Regions from separate parts of the Homo sapiens genome. Here all the other regions are linked to region 5. Evidence: promoter capture Hi-C in 16 types of primary human blood cells and fetal thymus (Javierre and others, 2016). All regions are on one chromosome and are shown on one strand. The core of a region is centred on a gene start or on the middle of the fragment in contact, and the rest is flanking DNA. Distances in the headings are between cores, read along the strand shown.

Evidence for each region. Contacts are between HindIII fragments. The CHiCAGO score rates a contact against its expected background, and 5 or more counts as called.
Region 1: a fragment that was not itself captured here is called in contact with the fragment with the promoter of CCDC85A in region 5 in 2 of 17 cell types (monocytes and M2 macrophages); the score reaches 7.4 in monocytes.
Region 2: a fragment that was not itself captured here is called in contact with the fragment with the promoter of CCDC85A in region 5 in 2 of 17 cell types (M2 macrophages and monocytes); the score reaches 6.6 in M2 macrophages.
Region 3: a fragment that was not itself captured here is called in contact with the fragment with the promoter of CCDC85A in region 5 in 1 of 17 cell types (monocytes); the score reaches 5.4 in monocytes.
Region 4: a contact is called between a fragment that was not itself captured here and the fragment with the promoter of CCDC85A in region 5, in 4 of 17 cell types (M0 macrophages, M2 macrophages, M1 macrophages and 1 more). The highest score is 10.1, in M0 macrophages.
Region 6: a contact is called between a fragment that was not itself captured here and the fragment with the promoter of CCDC85A in region 5, in 4 of 17 cell types (M2 macrophages, monocytes, M0 macrophages and 1 more). The highest score is 14.1, in M2 macrophages.
Region 7: a contact is called between a fragment that was not itself captured here and the fragment with the promoter of CCDC85A in region 5, in 7 of 17 cell types (monocytes, neutrophils, total B cells and 4 more). The highest score is 13.2, in monocytes.

The regions. Positions count from the first base shown.
Region 1 is chr2:57,467,127-57,470,551 of GRCh38, forward strand. No RefSeq gene overlaps it. Among named protein-coding and RNA genes, the nearest start is that of VRK2, 580 kb to the right of the region's middle. The HindIII fragment of the contact is 281 bases long and covers 1,295-1,575 here.
Region 2 is chr2:57,390,610-57,393,779 of GRCh38, forward strand. No RefSeq gene overlaps it. Among named protein-coding and RNA genes, the nearest start is that of VRK2, 650 kb to the right of the region's middle. The HindIII fragment of the contact is 328 bases long and covers 1,136-1,463 here.
Region 3 is chr2:57,447,333-57,450,512 of GRCh38, forward strand. No RefSeq gene overlaps it. Among named protein-coding and RNA genes, the nearest start is that of VRK2, 600 kb to the right of the region's middle. RefSeq lists a silencer at 2,996-3,075. The HindIII fragment of the contact is 2,233 bases long and covers 605-2,837 here.
Region 4 is chr2:57,373,040-57,376,207 of GRCh38, forward strand. No RefSeq gene overlaps it. Among named protein-coding and RNA genes, the nearest start is that of VRK2, 670 kb to the right of the region's middle. The HindIII fragment of the contact is 2,900 bases long and covers 1-2,860 here.
Region 5 is chr2:56,181,972-56,185,243 of GRCh38, forward strand. CCDC85A (coiled-coil domain containing 85A) reads left to right here and starts at 2,019. Exons shown (of 6, transcript NM_001080433.2): 1 at 2,019-2,929. The coding sequence starts at 2,654. All of the region lies in intron 1 of LOC100129434 (a long non-coding RNA gene), which reads right to left. RefSeq lists a silencer at 1,689-2,018. The HindIII fragment of the contact is 6,654 bases long and covers 1,406-3,272 here.
Region 6 is chr2:57,545,392-57,548,860 of GRCh38, forward strand. No RefSeq gene overlaps it. Among named protein-coding and RNA genes, the nearest start is that of VRK2, 500 kb to the right of the region's middle. The HindIII fragment of the contact is 5,465 bases long and covers 1-3,469 here.
Region 7 is chr2:57,483,628-57,486,977 of GRCh38, forward strand. No RefSeq gene overlaps it. Among named protein-coding and RNA genes, the nearest start is that of VRK2, 560 kb to the right of the region's middle. The HindIII fragment of the contact is 872 bases long and covers 1,286-2,157 here.

The DNA of each region.
Region 1 (3,425 bases), core at 185-2,684, 1.3 Mb after region 5:
TTAAAAATATATTTGTTGGCTGCTTGTATGTTTTCTTTTGAGAAGTGTGTGTTTGTGCCCTTTTGCCTGCTTTTTAATGGGGTATGTTTCTTGCTTGTTGATTTAAGTTGCTTATAGATTCTGGATATTAGGCCTTTGTCAGATGCATAGTTTGCAAATATTTTCTCCCATTCTATAGGTTGTCTGTTTACTCTCTTTAGTTTCTCTTGCTGTGCAGACACTCTTTAGTTTAATTAGGTCCTATTTGTCAATGTGTTGTTGTTGTAGTTGCTTTTGAGGATTTAGCCATAAATTTTTTGCTAGGGCCAATATTGAGAAGGAGTTTTTCTATGTTTTCTTCTAGAATCTTTTTTTTTTAATTTAACTTTTAAGTTCAGGGGTACATGTGCAGGCTTGTTATATAGGTAAACTTGTATCATGGGGGTTTGTTGTACAGATTATTTTGTCACCCAGGTATTAAGCCTTGTACCCATTAGTTATTTTTCCTGTCTAACATTTGTCTTTAATCTGACTTCCATTAATTTTTGTATAGGGTGAAAGGTAGAGATCCAGTTTCCTTCTTCGGCATATGGATAGCCAGTCATCCTAGCACCATTTATTGAATGAGGAGTCTTTTCCCCATTGTTTATTTTTGTTGACTTTGTCAATGATCAGATTGTTTTAGGTGTGCAGATTTATTTCTGGCTTCTCTATTCTGTTCCATTGGTCTACCTGTCTGTTTTTGGAACAGTGCCATGCTGTTTTGGTTACAGCAGCCTTGCAGTATAGTTTCAGGTCAGGTAACATGATGCCTCTGACTTTGTTTTTTTTTTTGCTTAGGATTGCTTTGGCTCTTAGGGCTCTTTTTATTCCACAAAAATTTTAGAATCTTTTTTTTTTCTTAATCTGTGAAAAATGACATTGGTAGTTTGTTAGGAATAGCGCTGAATTTGTAAATTGCTTTGGGCAGTATGGCCATTTTCATGATATTTATTCTTCCTACCCATGAGCATGAAAATACCTAGGAATACAGCTAAGCAAAAAGGTGAAAAATCTCTACAATGACAATTACAAAACACTGATGAAAGAAATCAGAGATGATGCAACAAATAGAGGTGACAGTTTTAAGAAGCTCTAATATCTAACTATGGTGGATAGAGAGTATAAGGAGCTAACCTAGGGTATAAATTGAACTTCAACCTTAAGGTCTATCCATGGAGATTAACTTCCTGAGAAAATGTTATCATGAACTTAATGAATATAAGCTACCAAGCATTGGAATAGCAATTTCAAAGATATTTCTCCTTTGTGTATAAGCTTCATTTAGTGGGGGGTCTACATTCCATGAAAATTTGTGAACTGGAATATCCCTAGTGATTATAGAAACCACAGTCTTCATTGCCTATCAATATGTTTGGTTAAACTATATTCACAGAGATAATTTAATTGCAAATGAATGTAACTTAGTTGTTTTCTAATCTGAAATCATTTTTAGGATATTTTAAAAATATACATGTCACATACTTAATTTTTATGAGGGCATAAAAATAACAACACATATCTTGGATATTTTATCATACTTTTAAAAAACATTTAAGCTTGACTCCACATTTTCTCTTTTCCCTGAACCTACATTAGCTCACCTGTACCCTAAATTTCATAATTCCTACATATCCTTTATTTCCATTTTATTTCCCAGAAAATACATGTATGTATAACATATATGTATATATGTGTATACACACACACAATGTCTTAGTCTATCCAAGCTGCTATAACAAAATAATGTAAACTGGGTAGGCTATAAACACCAGAAATTTATTTATCACAATTCTGGGCTCTGAAAAGTCCAAATCTGAGGTAGATTTGGTGTCTGGTAAGGGCTTCCTTTCCAGCTTATAGGTGATGCCTTCTAGCTATGTTCTCCCATGTGCAGGGAGTGAGAAATCGCTCTCAGATCTCTTTTATAAGTACACTAATGTCATTCATGAGTGACCCACTCTCCTCATCTAATCATGTCCCAAAGACCTCATCTCCTAGTACTATCACCTTGAGGGTAGGATTTCAACATAAATTTTGGGGAGACATAAACATTCAGATCATAATACATCACACACACACACACACATACGTTACAAACACCTAGCCCAGCTGCATTTTTGGACAAGACACTAGAGAAAGAAAGAATCTTTGTAATTTGCAAGTGCTTTTAGTCTCATATATTACTTAATAATTTTGGAATTATTCTTTGAATACAGCATTTTCTTCTAAAGGAATGCCTGTTTATGTTAGTAAATTTTTTAAACAAATCACATATTCCTCACTATAAGAGAAAAATCAAGGTGATTATGTATTAAATTCTCACATATACAATGGAGTCTGCTTTTGAACATGACTGGATTCCACTGATCAATTTGTCTATTGCTAGTTTACATCAATACCACCTTAATTTTATTAATGTGGTTTTATATTATGTTCTAATATCTAGTTCTCTTTTTTATATATTGTAACTTATTTCCTTCTCATATTTTCCTATCACATATTAGATATTTGTTTTTTCTTACAATTTTAAAATAAATTTTGCAGTTAGGTTATTTTACTTTTGTATTTACTGCAATCAGTGTTAGAATACTTGTGGTTATGACATTTTGATCTAGTTTCTGATTTTAATTGAAATGCAGTTGGAGTTACTGATTTGGGATAATATTTTCCACTATTGTTGGTAAACTGTCTTTCTTACAGTTAAGTGGGTCTCTACTTTTATGGATTACTTAGAGTTTTTAAAATTAGGAATGTGTTTCTTAATTTTCTCAAATACCCTTTCAACCTTTATATCTGTAATCTTGTGCTTTTTCTATTTTGTATTTATTTTTTTTGAGACAGAATCTCTCTCCGTCACCCAGGCTGGAGTGCAGTGGCGTGATCGTGGCTCATGCAACCTCCGCCTCCCGGGTTCAAGCGATTCTCCTACCTCAGCCTCCCGAATAGCTGGGATTACAGGCATGGGCCACTACACCTGGCTAATTTTTGTATTTTTAGTAGAGACAGGGTTTTGCCATGTTGGCCAGGCTGGTCTTGAACTCCTGACTTCAGGTGATCCGCCTGCCTCGACCTCCCAAAGTGTTGGGATTACAGGCGTGAGCCACTGTGCCTGGCAATCTTGTGCTTTTTCTTTGTGTTGCACATGTCTTTGGGTGTCTTATTTTCTTAATAAGTCATCTAGTGGTAGATCAAATAAAATTTTATTTTTAAGTAAGGAATAAATGAGGGTGGTTTAAAGTCATTAAATAACTTTTTATGAAGAATAACCCTATGCTCTTTCACAATAAAGAGGCAAGGGCCAAGAAAATTTGGACCATGGCACTTTCATTTATGGCAAATAATACTGCTAGAAGTAGATAATCGGCTGGGCTTCTTTGACTTCATTTCTGTTTCAAAGAGAATTA
Region 2 (3,170 bases), core at 50-2,549, 1.2 Mb after region 5:
ACATTGTATAAAAAACAATGGCTGAATTTATTGCAATAAATCTCATGAGTAGGTTCTCAACAAAGATAGTGGTGGTGGGAATAGTGAGGAGAGGATGACCTGAGAACTGTGTAAGAGAAGAATCAAACACATCTGACCAGTTGGAAATGAGTATAAAATGTAGAAGGAAGAGTTTTATCCTCTAGTTTGGAATTCACAAATAGTAAATTTGGGGTATATTTCACAAGTAGTAAAACAAAGAGTGTAATACATCAGGATATGCTCTGATACATTAGTGCCTATAGAATTCAGGCTGAGAGCCATATGAGAAGTTGTTGCAAATACATAGCCTTTTTTCTACTTTTTTAAAGTATTGAGATATTAGGCATCTCTGTGCCGAGCTGCAGGACAAAAAGACCCTGTAGCAGTCAAGCCCTGCTATTCGTTGCACCTGCTCTGCATGCTCCTCAATGATATCTTCAGATTTGCCTAACAGCCCCATTAATATCTTTATCTCTGATAGCCTGACTCACCATATCTTTAATAAAACCCTTGTTCACAGGGTGACCACAATGCCTCTGCTCATTTTAGGTGCCTAAGTGTTCTAGCCTAGTAATTATCTTCCTCAAACGGCTCCCTTTTTAACCTATGCTTCTAGCAGCGGAGTTTCTTTGTTGCTATGGATTCTGGACAGACTATTTTGTCAATCCTTGAACCCAATATTCTCTTTTGCAAACAGTTATATACTAAAGTCGATATTTTCTTTTACCTCATTTCCTTGTTAATAGACAAAGACATATATTGAGAATATACTTGTCTGGCATCCTGCTGAGATTAGTCCTTGGATTTCTGCTGACTTTAATCTTTATAAATGATCTAGAGAAAGGCAGTGACTGTGAACTAACTGGAAATACTAATCAGCCAAAATTGCTGGGGAGGAAAGAAGTAGAGGAAGCTACAAACCCAACACAGGTGGAGTCCAATATGCCATGTAGCTAAGTGGGTGTGTGGTAAACTGACATAATAAGGAACCTTGTGAAGAGCACTACAAATTGGAGATAAATGATTAAGAAATATGTAACACCATTCAGTTGAAATGCATGAAGTTTTGGGCATAATTATGGATCAGTCACCCCGAAAGGCATTAAATGTGTGAAGCTTCAATTAGACCAGGAAAAGGATAAGATCCACTAAAATAGTATACTTGAAAACAGAATTGTATTTCAATTTATTTTAACTTTCATTTAAAAATACTAATGAGAGAAGAAACAGAAATGTGGTATCAAGATTTGCTGCCAGAGACTCATTTAAGAAACTGGAGCGTTTGCGTATGTGTGTTTGGAGTTCATTGCAATTTAAAGTTTTGATACATGCATACACTCATAACTACCACCTAAATCAAGATATACACACATTTTTTATCAGCCTAACCTAGAAACTGTTCTTAAATCCTCTTTAAAGGCAACCTCACTTTTTCTACAGGAAGCTTCTTTCAGTTCCTTCTATACCCGTAGATTCATATGGCACGAACCAGGATTTCATATACATGAAATAATATAGTATGTGCTCTGTGTTTGGCCAGCATTTGGCTTCTGAGATTAATTCAAACTGTTTGGTTTATCACTACTTCATATCACAACTTTTTAATTCATTATCCCACTGATGGACACTTTCACCATTTTTGTTTGGGGCTCTTTTGTGTGTGTGTTTAAAGCTTCTGTGAACTTTCCTGCAGAAGTCTTTCTTTCTTTCTTTTTTTTTTTTTTTGAGACGGAGTCTCACTCTGTCATGCAGGCTGGAGTACAGTGGCATGATCTCGGCTCACGGCAAGCTCCACCTCCCGGGTTCATGCCATTCTCCTGCCTCAGCCTCCCGAGTAGCTGGGACTACAGGCGCCTACCACCACGCCTGGCTAATTTTTTGTATTTTTAGTAGAGATGGAGTTGCACTGTGTTAACCAGGATGGTCTCGAACTTCTGGCCTCATGATCTGCCCGCCTAGGCCTCCCAAAGTGCTGGGATTACAGGTATGAAGAAGTCTTTTCTTTTTGAACATATGTTTTAATGTATCTTAGGAATTGGATCATAGAGTAGTTATGTATTTCCAACTTCTGAAAACCTCTGGGGTTCCTTGGCTTGCAGCAACGTAAGTTTAATCTCTGCCTCCATCTTCACATGACTTTTCTGTGTCTCTGTGATCTCTCCTTTCCTTATGAGTAAATTAGTCATTGGATTTAGGGCCCACCCTAACACAGTACAACCACCTCCTAACTCAATTAACTGCAAAGACCAGATTTCCAAATAGGTCACAGTCTTAGGTCTCAGATGGTACAAATTTGTGATTACATGATTCAATACACTAGTACTATATACTAATATTATATAGAAATACAATTTATTTTTTAATGTCCTAGTGTCTCATGACTTTGCTGAAGTTATTTATTAGATACAAAATTTGTCTTATACATTTTTAGAGTTTTTATTTTGTACAATCATGTCTGATCATCTGTGAATAAAGGCAGTGTTACATTTTTCATTTCAATCTGTATCTTTCATTTCTTTTTCTTATCGTTATGCTCTCAAAACAACCTCCAGTACAATATGAAATAAACATAGTATGGAGAAACCCCATCTCTACTAAAAATACAAAAAAAATTTTACTGGGCATGATGGTGCATGCCTGTAATCCCAGCTAATCGGGAGGCTGAGGCAGGAGAATCGCTTGAACCCGGGAGATGGAGGTTGCAGTGAGCTGAGATCATGCCATTGCACTCCAGCCTGGGCAACAAGAGCAAACTCCATATAAATAAATAAATAAATAAATAAATAAATAAATAAATAAATAAATGTAGTATGTCTATACTTCCTTTCTCCAATTTTAAGAAAAAAAGCAATGGCTATGGATATTTTACAGATGCCCTTTATCATATTAAAGAATGTTATTTCCATTCCTATTTTGTTGAAATTTTTATCACGAAAGGCTGTTAGATTTTCTTAAATGCTTTTATTCAACATATTGATGAAAATGATCATTTTTTTTTTACTTTGTTAATTAAGTGAACTGCATTGACTGATTCTGGATTGTTAAAACATTTTGTATTATCAAGATAAACTGTACCTTCTTTATTATTTATATTTTTGTGCATCCAATTTGCTGATATTTTATTGAAAATGTCTGTGCCTATGTCCATG
Region 3 (3,180 bases), core at 471-2,970, 1.3 Mb after region 5:
TCTATATTTATTTTAGTACACTTGTAGTTTTATTTTTAAATAAATCTTTAATGCAATTGAAAATATGCATATGAGATAATATTATAAGGTAGATACATGAGTTTTCTTTTTTTCTTCCAAGCACAATCAGATCTAGGTTATCAGATGGGCAATTCTCTCCTGATATGAAATACCCTTTTTATAATTCATTAAATTATTATGATTTAGATGCGTTAGCTTCTCCCTAGGGCTATTTAAAGAATCAAGTACCATAGTAGATTTAAAATATTAAATAAATAACAATTATTATTACTCAAGAATGCTTAACTCATTAAATAGATTGAAGATGGGTTTCCAAAATGTTATATGAGCCATCTACCCTTTTGGAGCAAGTGAATATGTACGTGATCCCTGACAAATTATTTTCTGTTTATTTAACTTAGCAATTCTGTTCAAATTTAACTAGTGTTCAGCACTTGGATTTTCATTTTGCACACTAGATGTATGCATTTCTGGAATAATTGAATAGTGTCTTACAACCTGAAAAAAATAAACATAAGCAGCACATGTTCATTGAAGGATTGCAGACAGCACGTAGTCCGTGGATTAGCTTGATTCAAAATGAAGCTTTAATTAGAATATATATTAGAACCAAACTTATAAAGCAGAGTAGGACCTGGAGTGGAGCCTGGACTCATTACTTACAGTCTAAATGGCAGCATTATCATACATCCTTCAGGAAGAACTTAGTCTTTATAATAGAAACAAAGCAATACCTGAGCTTCTGAACAAGATTTCTCTACACAAAGAAATATGTGTGAAACAATAAAAACCTGGAAAGCAATCTAGAGTGTGGTTGAATAAGCTATAGAAATTGCTATGAACTAAAATAAGTGAGGAGCAAAATATGGATTGAGTAATAAGAAAATTTGCCTAAAGCCACATGTCGGAGATAGTCTATCTAATTTACAACTTCTTTGCTCTAGTGACAAGTGGTTGACTGCTTTTTGGTTTTTATGTGTGCGTTTTTGGTTATAAAGTATAGCATTACAAGAAAAGTTATTTCCCTGTAATATCTCAAGTTATTCCCTAGAGAACAGATTTTTTTAAACAAAATGTACTCTGACCCAAAAACATTTGTATTCTAAAAGGGAGTTTCATGGGCACTGTCTGTCAGCATGCTCACTGTGTTTTGTTCTTTAAGAAGACATTAGTATACTCCAAACTTATCCAGATTGAGTAGGATAGATATAAATAAATTTCACTTATATATCATAAATGGGATTATAAAATTCATCAGTAAAATAATGATCTGGCAAAATATTTACTTTAGAAAACTATTAATAAGTCCTTACATATTTGGAATATAACAAATGATTAGAATAAACTGATAGCTCTTTTCTGGGGCAAATTTCATTCCTATAGTTTCAAGAAGAGTTGAAAACTTAAAGGAATAAAATTGTTTTTAATATTTCAAAACATATATATTAGTCAGGCTTTAAAAATAATGTATAATAAGAACCCTAATATCTCAGTAGCTTAAAATACCAGACATTTATTTTACACTCACGTGTCTGCTATTTGGCTGCAATTCAACAGATTTTGTCTGAGCTTGGATATGCTGGATGATATTACATTTGGGTTCAGATCTGCTTTGCATGCAGTCATTCTAGAAAACAACTGGAAGGAGTAATGAACGCCTGGGGCATGTTCTTCCATTGCAAATCCTTCCAAAATCCCAGCTCAGAACTAGCCTTCTGACACTGTTGCCCACAACCCAGCTGGCCACAGCCAGTCATATAGCCAAATTTTTTGCCTATGAACTGGAGAAGTACGCTTTGGCCATGCAGAGGAGTAGGCAGTTAATATGTGATGAGGAGTAACCTAACCTACCACAATGAGAATGAGCTGGTTTATGAGCTAGTTCAAATCTTCTACTAGAAGATAAAATGAGAGATTCCACTCCAATGATCGATATTCAACAAGTCTGAGAGGAAATTACACCCTATTAGACATTTTGTCTATTCAAAGACTTACACTTTGAGTGCAGAAAACAACATTATATCATATAGTCATCTCTTCTATTGGACAGGAGGTCTTGGGAATGTAAAGCGAAATTTATGATAGTAAAGGCAGTGTCAAATTAATGTGCAATATTCTTCTTAATTATCAGATTATTTGGCAAACTTTCCATTTAATGCAAGATGAATAAAAGTGTAGAGATTACCATACCTTCTTTAGTTATGAATCCAAAACTCCTTTTCATCAAAGTCTTTTAAAAGATAAGAAAAATGATACCTATATTATGGTGTTTGTTAATTCAAGTTTACTTGACTGCATAACTTTTCTGGTTTATAAATACAGTAATACAGCATATTTTTATTTTTCATTATAGAGATCAAATATTTGACTATTCTGTATGTTACAAGTTCAATCAGTTTTTTTTATTGACATTAGCACAAGGTGATCTTATATTATTCAAGGTAAAATGGTGATTCCAAATTAAGAAATGAGGTGATATTAAAGTTGTTTACTAACTTCTTTAGTCATAATTTATGTAAATTACCTCCTCAATAAAAACCACTAAAATATTTTTTATTTAGAAGAATGTTAATTCACCTTCTATACTGTGCTACTTGATTTTATTAATTGATATACTTCTTGTTGGATGATGTTATACTTAATCTTCCTTCAATATCCAGCTTATGTTCCACTTTCTCCATGAATTTTTTTTTAGATACGATGACCTACACTGATCTCATCTGTCTCTGACATCTCTTGGTTTTTGTAAATACTATTTTTTGTTGTTGTTGTTGTTCTCTGATGCTTATAATATCAGTTGTTCTTTCAAGTAGAAAAGCTTTGGTTATCTAGTGCTGCCTAAGAAATCCCAAACTTCTAGCAAAAACAGTAACTATTGTTTATTTTTCTTATCTCTCCTCATTCTGTGGTGACTAACCTTATCTAGGTGGTTGTCTCATATGGTCTTTCATGAAGTTGCAGTCTGACAGCATCTGGGCTGGAGTCATCTCAAAAGCCACCTCAGTCAAGTTTCTGTAGGCTGATGCTTGCTATGAGCTAGAACCTCACTGGGAGCTCTCAGCCAAAACACCTACACATGGTTTCTTCATATGACTGAAACTTCCACACATTATGGCACCTGGATTCTAAGAGTGAGTATCTTATGAAAGCAAATTTTGC
Region 4 (3,168 bases), core at 161-2,660, 1.2 Mb after region 5:
GTGCGTGTCTTGTAAATCTTTAGACTGGCCATGTTTTTCACTTATATCGTATCCCCTGTATAGAAAAGATTATCTTTTTACATGTTGAGCATCTTCTTTTAAATCTTAGGGAATTATAAGGAATAATACTTTTTAAGATGCCCATGCCCTCAAGAGTCTCAAGTACAGTATGGGAGCCAAATTGGTAAAGTCATAGTTTATAAGGTGTATTCTATAGGGAAGTAAGTGCTGTTTTAGAGTTTATAATATCATATATAACAAAATCACTAACTTTCTTGGAGAACTGACTAAGGCTTTGCAAAGAAAGCAAATTTTAATATGAATTTGGAATTACTAAAGTGATCAAAAAGAAATTTAAAAGAAAATTTAAAAAAAGAATCTTTTAGACAGAGGCAAGAGCACAGTCCAGAAAGGAATGAAAGGTCATAGAGTATTGAGGAAGTTCAGATAGGCTGGGGCATAGAACCTATAGCTGAAGATAGATTGTGGTAGACTTTCTGTGACAAAGAATCGGAACAGTGGCTTGTAGACAATGAGGAACCAATAAACAGGATCAAATTTCAATTTTTTTGGTATATTTTTGAAAACAATTAGCAGTGGCGTCATGAGTTATGAGTGGGGAATTAGCCAGGAGAATGAGAAATATGTGTCAGGAAGTTATGAGGCTGCTGCAGTGATGAGTAATCGAATACCAAAGCCCATTAGATAGGGAGGAAATAATGAATCCAGCCTCCATTTCTGAGGTCATCATTAGTGACTGATAGTCATGGATGGGAGAAAGAAATTGGAGATGAAGATTCTAATTTAGAGAAGGACAGTGGTACAAATAGTCAAGATAGAGGAAACTACAGGAGGAGTGACTAAGAGAGCTGGGACAGAGAATGAAAGTAGAAATAAACAAGTCCTTTACACCTGGTGATTCTGCAAGGTCCTACGAGACATAAGAACGGAGATATTCATTAAAGAGTTACAAATGTGGGTTTAGGTCTTGACCCATAAGTCCATAAATTTAGCACTTGATATTCTGTCAGCTGAAGAGCACACCTAGGAAGAGTATAACAAATGAGCAGAGAAAAGGTCAGAAATAAAACTCTAATGGATAATGACATTTGAAGGCATATGGAGGAAGAGAATACAAAAAATACTAAGAAAAAGTAACAAAAATAGAAGTTGTTGCTAGTGATGATAGTCTTCTGAAAGCCAAAGGAGATCATATCTAAAAGTCCAAAGTCCACATTGTCAAATGACAGCACATGAATCATAATGTTGCCATGTTAAAATACTTTTATGGTTATTTTGTTAAATTTTTATTGTATTTTCAAAAAACCAGGTGATGAGTAAGTACTAAAAGTGCCTTTACTGTTACAATGCCTTTTTCTTTTATCTTGCCCACAAAATAATGAATGTTATATTTAACATTTCTGTTTCTTTTGGTTTTTAACTTAGCTCTGTGTAAGGTAGAGATTGCATTTGACAGAGTAACAGAGTACCAAAATATAATGGCCTTAATATTCAAATATTTAATGTCTCATGTAAAGTAGCCCTCTCCAGTTTGCTACATTAGCTTTATGGTATTGTGGATCTGGCTCTTTGATCTAACAGGGTGCCTCACCGTCTTACAATGTGGCATCCATTCTCAAAGTCAGGATAATGGCTAAGGCTCTGGTCATCACATCTGACATAACAGTTTAATTTTTAAGCAGGGCAGAAGAGTAAAAATGGTGCTCCTTCCAGTTGACTAAGATCCCTTTAAAGAACCTTCCCAGAATTCCCTCCCAATACTTAATGTTTATTTGACCACATCTAGCGCAAATAAGATTGAAAATTTAGCCTTTATTTCTAGCAGTAACGGGTCAAAGTAGTATTTGTAGTCTAGCAAAGATAATAGATGTTCACTAGGTTACTAGCTGTCTTTGCCAGGAGCTCCTGAAATATGGACGAGTTTGGCTAGTTTAAAAAATAAAATGTAAAACTATTCAAATGTGGTCGTGTCCTTTACTCAAGTAACTAATCGTCAAGTGGAAAAACATATGTACATACAAAATACAGAAGCAGCATTCTTGCCATGAAGAAGATACATAAAAAGTGCAATGGGAAATAGTAGAAAAGTGATCCCTGATGGAATATAAATTTTCTGAGTGGCTAGTAATGGGACAGGATCAAAGAGGATGAAATACTTTTTCAGGCAGAGAAAATGACATGTGATAAAGCATCAAAGCATTGCTTGGTGAGAATAACATGGAATCTCAGGAATTGAAAGCAAATTCAAATATACATTCAAAGCTAAAATTAACTTAGAAAGCTAGGCACTTGGGGTGCGTGGAAACTTGTAGGTGCTGAGTATCAGCTACTGAAGAATTTTACGTGAAAGCTACCCCTAAAAACTGTAAGACAAATTATTTAGTAAAGTCCTGAGTGGCACTTGTATTTGATTTGTTAATTTGCTGGAAGTTCTTATGCTTCTCTAAGAAATAAATTGCTATAGGCATTTTACCAAAGAGGAAGATAAAGATGTTTGCTCTTTCAGTTTTATAAATCTTCATGTATTTGAAGAAGGTAAGATATTAAATGTATTTTAGTTGTATATTAAATTTTACCCCAAATGACAATATTAAGACTATGTGTAGAGAAATGTAAAAGATTTTCTTAGAAAAATTAATGTTTAATCAGATTTATTTTTTCACACTATATGAAATTTGATTTTCTAAATTATTTTACTTATGAGCTCTGGTACTTTTATTATTGTCATTGCTTTAAGTATTTTATTAAATTATTGATTTTCTGATGTTATTTCATTAATTATTCATCTCTACAAACTAATAAAACTAGCGCTAACATTTACTAACTTAACCTCTCAACAAGCTTCTGTGACAGATACCATTACAATGACAAGTTTACAGACTAAAAAATGTTACACATTGTATATTCTAACCTTTCTTTTTAAAAATAGGGAGAGATAACTTTCTGAGTAATTATTAGCAATTCATAAACCCTGCTGTTTACCACAAAGTCTGCACCAAAGTATTTTAAAGGAAGATGAGTTTTTTCTTTCCATGAATTAGTTATATTTATAAAAACAATTTCAACCATTGTTTGAATTTGAAATTGTAATCCAAAGAAACAGAATTATACAATAATGAAATCAGCATAGTTTTTTATTCCTTGATT
Region 5 (3,272 bases), core at 769-3,268:
AGAGAAGGGGGCTGGCTGTTTCATTTTAGAATACGACTCTTGAAGAACCCGTGATGGAGGAATAAACAGAAGTCCTGGTTCCTATTTCTAGACAAGAGGCTGCCCAATGTAATATGTAATATCAGTAATAGTAAGGTTGCATTTCTGTAGGGTGGCTCGATCAAGCGCTTCTTGTATACCATATCATTAGCTGCCCGAGGGCCAGTAAGGTCGGATGGTTTGTTCAAGGACAAGAACTAACAAGTAACAGAGATAGGACTTATCTTTTTCTGACCTTCACTTTCCCTTTCTGTGACAAAACTGGTCTTAGGAACTGTGTTGAGCAGAGCCTTCTGTGGGCGTGAGAGCGGCTTGGAGGTGTCAAAGAAAAATTGCATCCGATATAGTTAAACAGACAAGGGGGAATTATTCAAGGCTATTGCAATAGGGAAGAGAGAGAGGGAGGGAGAGGGGAACTAGTAGAAGACTAGTGGAGGAGATTAGGATGGGAAGTTGGTCAGTGTAATGAGGCCATTTGTGTTTCCTAATTGGAACTTATTAAAGTTAGGCTCCTCCTCTCCACAAACACTAGGAGATAGGGACCCTTTTTTCCTTGATGATTACATTTCAAAGGGATGCCTCACAGATCCCTGAGAAAGATCCCCAGGCTGTAAAACCCAGCAAGAGGCGGAGAGATTTACATGTCAAAGGGTCAGAGGAAACATTCACCAATGGAAGTTGGCTAAAGTAAATGCTCTGAGAAAAGGAAGGTCTGGGGCCTACAGTTAGGAAGAAACCTGTCTAAAGTTTAGTTAAGCTGAGGGGAATGTTAAGGCCATTTGGTCACCGTAAGCAGTACCACATTTCCTTGCCTCTCCCGGGAGCCAGGTCTCAGTGTCCCCAATAGGGGACACGCACTGACCGGCGGGTGAAGGGACTGATTTTGATTATCATCCTACCAGATAGAGATTATTCCCTCTGCACCCGGGTTAACTGAAACCCGGTGGGGGTAGATCCTTGCCATTTTCCGGCCCTGTACCCCACTGGAAATAACATGCGGTGGTCAAGGGCATCCACCTCTTTAGGCAAAAGCATGTTTTCAGCCCAGAGACGATTCCACCCAACTTTACAAGAGGATAGCCCAAAGATAGAAGCCAGGGACTCAGACTTCCTCCTTCCAGAAATAACCATCATAAAAAAGCCGACCCAGTAAACGCCTGGCAGCCTGCGGCATAGAAGAAAATGGAAATCTCCTTGGCTGGCATTTCAGCTTGCCTGAGGGGGCTTGCTTTGCTCCGAGGGGAGGTGACTGTGCTGACCTTAAAATCCAGGTTTCAGGAAGCAGGAGATGAAGGTATTTTATTTTCGCCTAAAGGCTTTGATATTTTTCAAATAAAAATTTAAAAGATCCAGTACCTTCTCCCGAAGCTTCTTCATAGAGTAGTGGATTTTTAGAAAACACAAAGGCCTAGGGGTGGGGCGAGAGTGGGGGGTGGGGATGGGTAGCCCCATAAGAGCAGTGCCCTGACGCCTCTTTTCGCCCTTTTCAGACCATTTGGATTTTCTTAAGCTGCCCCTTTCCCCAACCCCCGTTTTTGCCATTTGCCTCTCCTCCCATTCTCCAAAGTGCAAATAACTGGTTATCCCTCAGGTCCTGCTACCCCATCTTTCCTGATCCCCGATCCCTCCAAATACGAAGCACCTCGCATTTGGGTCAGCAGCTGTTTCCCCTGCCTGGTGACAAGGCCGGTGTGCAGAGGGCAGAGGAGGGAGCTTCTTCCGCCACACGGTGGCGCGCGCGAGCCTCCCAAAGACCGGGCGGCCACAGCTCCTCACCTTCTCCCCATTCCAGCCCCACCCGCCCGGGCGCAGAAAGAGCCGCGCCCCCAGCCCTCCCGGGCAGGACAGCCGGGAGCGCACCTCGAGGGCCCGGGCAGCGGTCGAGTGGCAGCTGCGTCCAGCCCATGCGGGAGCTGCTGCGGGTTACGGGTGGCCCCAGCTCCAGGCTCCTCCTCCAGCCGGTCCCCCACCCTCCACCCCTTCTCGACTCCGCTCTGCAAATCGAAGGCTTTCCGGAGCAGCCTAGGAGCGGCCGCGGGCGCAGCGAAGGCGGCAGGAGGAGCGCAGCAGCCTTCGGGCAGCCGCGGCGGCGTCGCTAGAGCAGCCGGGGAGGCGCCGCGGTGCCCGGCGCGCCCTCCAAGCTAGGAGAGGGGAGAAGCCGGGGGCTGCAGCTGGGCAAGGGGGAGGAAAGTGCGTGTGCGTGCACGCCTGTGTGCAGGGCAGAGAGTGCGGGGGGCGACAGTCTCGGCTTAGGGCGGAGGAGAGGGCAGGGGAACGGCGGTGCAGCTCCCCCGCTGTCCCCGAGGATTTCCCGCGGCAGCCCCGGGCTCCCCAGTGCCCCTCACCATGGACTTGCGCGGAGTTGGGACGGGCCTCGGCAGCAGCAAGCGGCTGGCTGCCGGGCCCTGGGGGAGCGCGGGCGCGCGCGCGGGGATGGCGAGGTAGGATGGCCACCCAGCGCGACCCCCGCCGCCCCAACCCAGCGGCCCCTGGGCGGTGCCGCTGACTCGCCGGAGCGCACAGGGGTGTGGGCGGAGGCGGCCTCGCCGCGCCCGCGCCTTCGGGAGTCGCCTCGCCTCTTCCACCCACTTGCACCTGCCACCCCGCGGATACCATGTCGAAGGCGGCCGGAGGCGCGGCGGCGGCTGCGGCGGCGGCGGAAAGTTGTTCCCCAGCCCCGGCCGGCTCGTCCGCGGCCCCGCCCGCGCCGGTGGAGGACCTGTCCAAAGTGTCGGACGAGGAGCTGCTGCAGTGGAGCAAGGAGGAGCTGATCCGCAGCCTGCGGCGCGCCGAGGCGGAGAAGGTGAGCGCGATGCTGGACCACAGCAACCTCATCCGCGAGGTGAACCGCCGCCTGCAGCTGCACCTCGGCGAGATCCGCGGCCTCAAGGTGAGCGCGGGCCAGGTGGGGAGGCGCGGCGCGGCTGGGAGCGGGGTGCCCCGAGGAGGAGGCGGGGCCAGGCAAACTTTCCCTCCCTCCCTCAACAGGTGACCCTCCCCTTCTCCCGGTCGGCACCCCCTACCCCCAGTCCCCAGCCCCTGTGTAACTTTTCCAAACTTCGGAGGCGTCTGCTCCCCTCCTCTCCCCAACACGGGGCGCTCCACTGTCTGGCTGTTCGGGGAGGCGCTGAGGACGCTGGAAAGCAGGGAGGGAGGTGAAGGGCACGCGAACCTTTCATTTCTTAGGGAGGCTGGAAAATCTGTGCCTGGGGAGCCGGGTTTCAGTCAGTTAG
Region 6 (3,469 bases), core at 695-3,194, 1.4 Mb after region 5:
CCCAAGCACATCACAGGTACAAAGGAATTAGGATGCTGGGGCTTATTTGGGCTAAATTACTCACAGGTGCTTCTAACAAAGGTGGCAGATTGAACATACACATTTACCTCTATATCCTCCCTAAATCCCATGAAATGACCAAAAACGTGTGAAATAAACCCAAAAGACAAAAGAATTGAATAGGAGATGACAGCGACCCAATTTTAGACCTGAAAAGCAAATGAGCAAATGGTTTCTCATTGAACAAACCAAATAGAAAAATGAAAACAGAATATGCAAAGAAGCAAAAAATAAATAAATAAAGCAAGCCAATTCACATTACAGAACACAAAGTTTAGAATTTGCAGACACTGGCGAGTTCTGAAAGTCAGGGTTCCCTTGGGGATGAAAATCACAAGAGCAAAGTATTTTGTTTTGAAAACAGACATTTCCATTGTGTCTAAAATAGTGTTTGGCATATTGTAAGCACTTGGTAAATATTTGTTGAAGAAATGAATTAATAAAGTCAAGTCTTTCTAAAGAACAGCTAGACCCCCACCACTTTATAGGACTGTAAGTTTAATTACTGAAGAGATAGAACAGAAGGGCTCTGGGTTTAGAAACATCAGATACAGCAGACGGTGAAGGTAAAGATAAAATTTGTTTCTGTACCCTAAAGTATGAGAACTATCCCTCTCTGTTTGCCCCAGAGAATACTACAGGTTTATTCTCTGGGAAAACAATTTTAAGAGGAGAGATCCACAGATACTGACAGAAATTCCTAAATAAGCTGCACAAACAAACCTACCCATAATGAATCTCAACAAACATATTTTCCTCTCTCTCTTACACATATACCCCCCTTTAATCAAGTTTAGTGGCTCACTACTAAAGTCATGGATTACCACACATTTGAGAAAAGTCCCTAAGATAACAGAGATCAAAATAAAAAAAAAAAGATAGGAAAAATCGCAAAGAAACTTGGAAAATAGAGACAGTGTGGAAGGCTGAATACAATTAGCAGGGGAAAAATAACCCAGCCATGTTATGCTCAGAGAAATAATTGAGGTTGCTGCTTCCATGAAAGAAGCGATGATTACACAAAAGAGAACATTTAGAAAACAAAGGAGTGCTCTTGAAATAAAATACAAACATGCCAAAGGAAAATAAAAATTCAGTAGAAATTTTAGAAAATTGACCAAATCTCAAAAAAAGACCCAAAATACAAAAAAGAAAGGAAAGGAAGAGAAAGGAAAGCAAAGGAAAGGAGAGGAAAGGAAAGGAAAGGAAGAAAAAAAGAAAGAAAGAGAGAGAAAGGAGGGAGGGAGGGAGGAAGGAAGAAAATAAAGAGAAAAAAAGTAAAAGAAAGAAGAAAGAAGCTAGACACTGTGGCCCATGTTAGTAATCCCAGAGATTTGGGAGGCTGAGGCAGGAGGATTGCTTAAGGCTAGGAGTTTGAGACCAGCTTGGGCAACACAGTGAGACCACAAACAAATTTTAAATAATTAGTCAGGCACGGTAGTGTGTGCCTGTAGTCCGAGCTACTCAGGAGGCTGAGGCAGAAGAATTGCTTGAACCCAGGAGTTCAGGTTTACAAATAGTGTAGTGATTATGCCATTACGCTCCAGCCTGGGTGGCAGAGCAAGACTCTGTCTCAAAAGAAAAAAATAAAAACAAAAACAAAAAGCAAGAAAGGAAAGAAGAAAGAAAAGAAGAAACTGCAAGGAGAGAAGAAAATTCTAAAGTTGGTTCAGGCGATCTAATATAAAAAGAAGAGAATTCTAGAAAGAGAAAAGATAAACAAAATTGAATAAGTACAATTGTTGGAGAAATATTTCAAGAAAAGACCCACCATATTGTTTGCAAAAAAGAATAAAGAGTGAACCACACTGAGACACATAAATACGAAAGTTCTGAACCTTGAATACAAAAAGAAGATCCTAAGCACTTCAAGAGGAAATAGGAGGTCACATGCACAAGGTAAGAAGTCAAAAGTGCTTCAGAAATCTCTAAACAAAACAAAAACAAGTAAAAATGAAAACACTAGAAACTAGAAAACAAGAGTACATTGCTTTCAAAGTTTTGAGAAAAATGATTTATGATCTAGAAGTTCCTTTCAGCCAGGTTATCAAATTTCAAACAAAAACAAAAACACTCAAGCACGTTTTCTTTGGAAGTTCCTAAACAATTTATTCCCCAAATGAAAGCATAAGTCAAAAAAGTGTAAGACACAGAATCCAGGTGCTCTAGCAAGGGAAAATCTGTAGAACGTTTGCAGAATGACAGTTGTGCCACAGGCCCATTCAAATTAGAGTAGGGCAACAGGAGAGAAGAGAACAAAGCTGAGGAGAGGACAGGATGGGAGGGGAAGGGAGAGGAGGGGAGGGGAGTGGAAGGGAGGGGAGGGGCAGCGAAGGGAAAGGGAGAGGGAAGGAGAGGAGAGAAGGAAAGGCGGGAGGGAGGGAGGAAGGAAGGAAGGGAGGAGTGAAGGAGAAAAAATAAAGAGAAAGGAAAGAAAAGGAAAGGAAAGGAGGAAGGAAGGAAGAAAGGAAGGAGAGAGAGAAAGAAAGAAAAAGAAAGAAAGAAAGAAAGAAAGAAAGAAAGAAAGAAAGAAAGAAAGAAAGAAAGGAAGGAAGGAAGGAAGGAAGGAAGGAAGGAAGGAAAAGAAAAAAGAAATCAAGGAAGAAATGAAAGCAGGAAGGAAGGAAGAGAGGGAGGGAGGGAGGGAAGAAAGAAAGAAGGAAGGAAGGGAAAAAAGAGGAAGGAAGGAACTGATGTGTTTGAATATATAGAGAGAAGATTTTCAAATGTTTGAGAATTTAGAAAGAAATTACTAATAGGTAGATAGAAACCTAAGCAAAGGTTAAAAAGAGGTAATTATTAACTCCAGGAAAGCAAGAAATAAAATACTCTTTTCTACATAACATAGTGTAAATCCAGATTTTCTCAAGTCATAAAAAGTCCCATCTGCAGATAATATATATACGATCAAATGGGTCCACACACTGAATATTGATCAAGCCATATTTGATGTAACTTTATTGATTGTATTAGAGAATATGTGCCTGTGTGTTTGGAAAGAGGGCTGAAAGATGCTTCACGAGTCTTCATTTTGCACAGTAGAAAAGAAACAGATATTCCATAAAATTCACTAAATGTAAAATTTGCCCACAAGCATCCTACATAGAAATAAGAAAGTATGTAATCTAGAAAAGTTTTAAAAATGATAAAAATTACCTCCTCTGAGGAATGGGAGTTTGTATGACTCGCAAAGTACAGTAAAAGGACTACTTATTTTGGCTATGAGCCTTGCAGAACTATTTGATCAGTGATACTCCATGCAAGTATTTCTTTGATAAAAACAAAACCAAATTTAAAGAACTCGCCAATTCTTTCGACATGAATCCTAAAAATGGCATTTATTAAATATAGCTCCGTTGCCTAAATTCATCATCTTTTTGTACTAGCCAACCTTTTATATAAGGTTGAA
Region 7 (3,350 bases), core at 472-2,971, 1.3 Mb after region 5:
TTGATTCTTTTGAAAGGGAAAATTTGATGTAGAAGAAAGAGGGAAAACAATTCAAGACATTCTCAATTTTGTTGCCTGAGATTTTGGAGTCAAATATAAAAACATAATCATTGCGGAGACCGATGTTATATAAGTTTTGCCTTATGTTTTTTCTATTACTTTTATAGTTTCAGGCCCTACATTCAAGTCTTTATTTTGAGTTGATTTTTGTTCATGGTGTGAGATAAGGGTCCAATTTTGTTCTTCTGCACTGAATATCCAGTTTTCCCAAGCCTTTCCCCATTGTATGTTTTTGACAGCTTTGTCAAAAGCAATTGACTATAAATGTATGGGTTCATTTAGGGGCTCTCTATCGTGTTCCATTCATTGATATATCTATTTTTATGCCAGTATTATGCTATTTTAATTATTGTAGGTTTGTAATATACAGATGATCCCCGACTTACAATAGGGTTATGTCCCAATAAACCCAGTGTAAACTGTAAAAATCATAAGTCAAAATATCCAAGTTGGGAAGTATTTATAATTTAAAGTCAGGTAGTTTGTAGTTTGATGCTTCCAGTTTTGTTCTTTTTGCTCAGAATTGCCTTGGCTGTTTACGGTTTTTTTTGTGTGTGTGTGTGTACATTTGTGTGGTTCCATTATGACTTTTGGGATTGTTTTTCCTATTTCTGTAAAAAAAAAATGGCATTGGAATTTTGATGCAGATTGTATTGAATCTGTAGATCAAGTTGGGAAGTACAGACATTTTAACAATATGAATTATTCCAACCCATGAACACAGAGTATTTTTTCATTTCCTTGTATATTCTGTAATTTCTTTTCTCAAAGTTCTGTAATTTCTAAGACCTGTATTTTTCATCTCCTTGGTTAAATTTATTCCTAAGTATTTTATTTTGTGTACCTATTATAAATGGAATTGTTTTCCATGGATAAATGGGGCAGAGGGAATTGGTACACAGACCCATATCCATGGAAGGCAGAAGGTCTGATTGACAACAGAAAATTAGTGAGCTGTAGAAATGCGAAAGTAATTTCTGGTGCTCAAGTGAAGGAATAGGTTTTAGAGCAGAGCATGGATGGTTTATCAGTACATCTGTGGGACCAGGAAGGAAGGCCCAGTTGTTGGATCAGATGCTAGTAGATGGATAGATGTAGTTGTATGAATCTGGGGATCTCTGCTGAATGTTTTAGTTGTCTCAGTGAAATTGTCATTAAGACTATCAGCTGAAAGTAAGAAGACAGGGAAAATTGATATTTGAAGAGAAAGGAAGAACGTGAAATAAGCTTCTAGGAGAGTGGGAAAATAAATAGACTACAGAAATAGAGTGTGATCCTCTGCTCATCTGAAGTTTTTGGCCATGAATTTAAAGTAAGACTACTCAGTTGCATTGTTTGTGTTACTCTAGTCATTTTCAGCGGCACAAATGTCTTTGAAAATCTCAAAAAAAAATGATTTTCAACATAGAATTCTATACCTTTCCAAACTTTCAGTAAGAGTCGGGATGAGATAAAAATAATTTCAAACACACAGGTTTTCAAAGAAGTGACCTCCCATGCATGCATTCCGAGGAAATACTGAAGGATGTGCTCCATCAAGATGAGGATATAAACTAAGAAAAAGAGAGATATGAGATAACAAGAAACAGGAAATCAAACGTGGATAGCAGTGAAGGGAATCCTTGAATATATGTGAAAGGAGGGGCTCACACAACAGCTGTGCTCCAAGAACAGAGGGCAGTCAAATCTGACTAGAAGGAGTACTGCTTCAGGAAGATGAAATGGACAGAATATGTGAAATAACTAAATGTCTTTAGAGGAGATTCAGGAAATTTTTAAAAAGTTGGTTACTGATGAGTACGTAAAGATATGAAAATTATTAGTTCCCAGTAAAATAAAAAGGTTTCTAGGAGGGAAAAGTAATTATAGTTTATTGACCGGATCAGTTGTAAGCAGTGTTTACAACATAATAATGCAAATACTGAACAGCAGTCTTATAAAAATTCCATATAACAATATCACAATGTTGGGGGATAGAAGTACCATTCATGCATGGTGGAAATAGCAATTGGAGAACTAAAAATATCCAAATTCTTACATTAAAAAGGAGGTCAGCTATTAATAATTCAGGCTGAAAAATAAAAATGCTGCAATGTAAGCTTTTATTTAGAAATTTAGATCAATGCCAAAATAATTACTCAATAGAGGTGAAATTAGTTGTCTTTGGAATGGGAGCAGGGGAAAAGGCAGAGAACTTTGCTTCCCTCCAAGAAATGACATAGAACCATTTTACTCATTATGCTCACGCATAACTGTGTGCAAGAAAAAGAGAAGAAAAAGAACACACACAGAAGAAGTAGCACACTTGAAAGAAATGGAAAGTGGTTCAAAGTAGCTGCAGGGTAGAATGTGTGTAGTGATGTTTAAGGCCAATAAAAAGAGAAAAGTAGGTTGTGAGAAAAACGTCAAACTAAGAAACTTTTACTTCATTCAAGAGAATATAAGAAATCATCACAAGTAATGAGGCAAGAAAATTATATAATCAGATTTGTGCAAAGATGATTCTAAGAGCAGTGTACATTGTAGTTTGGAAGATACAAGGCTGAAACATCAAAATGAGCCACATTACTGAAATTTCTCAGAAAGACACCAGGGCCTTAGGCTGTCTGTTTCCTTTCAGGCTATGTGTATCTATTCCACTTCCATATCCCTCACCTTTGCCTATTTCTCTTTCCACTTCTCCTTAAGACTTATTTTCTTCTCTAAAGCCAATAATAGAAGTGAAGATTTTGTGTGTGTGTGCATATGTGTGTGTGTGTTACTGTGGGCATATGCATAACATGCATATTTTTCTGAAAATGAATACATAACTATGCACTCTACTTAATTTAAAAGGTGTGTATATATGAAAATTCTATTATCTTATGGAAAAAATAATTCTATTTTACAATGTGGATAATTGTTTTTTATGGGCCAGTGGTCTCTGACATAAAATATATTGTCTAAAATGTTATCTAAGCCCTAAATTGGAGTTTGAGGTAAAAAAAAATAGAAATAAATATATAACATTATTAATCTGAAAACATCCCTGATGCTATAAGTCAACCCTAATATCCTTAGTGAGACCTAAAATGAGAGCTAATGCCCAGCGTTGTGCTTGGTCTCTCATGTAAAATCCAGACTAAAGGATCCAGCCATTTGAATCCGATCAGCCGTGGGTGGGACCTCTCCCTGATGCTATTTATCTCTGTGTGTATGATGCCCCAAGTCCTTCACTTAGAAATTCTTTCATTAACTGTTCATTTTGGCTCTCTCTGCTGCTGACATGATCATTTTTCTTCCCTGTGTTG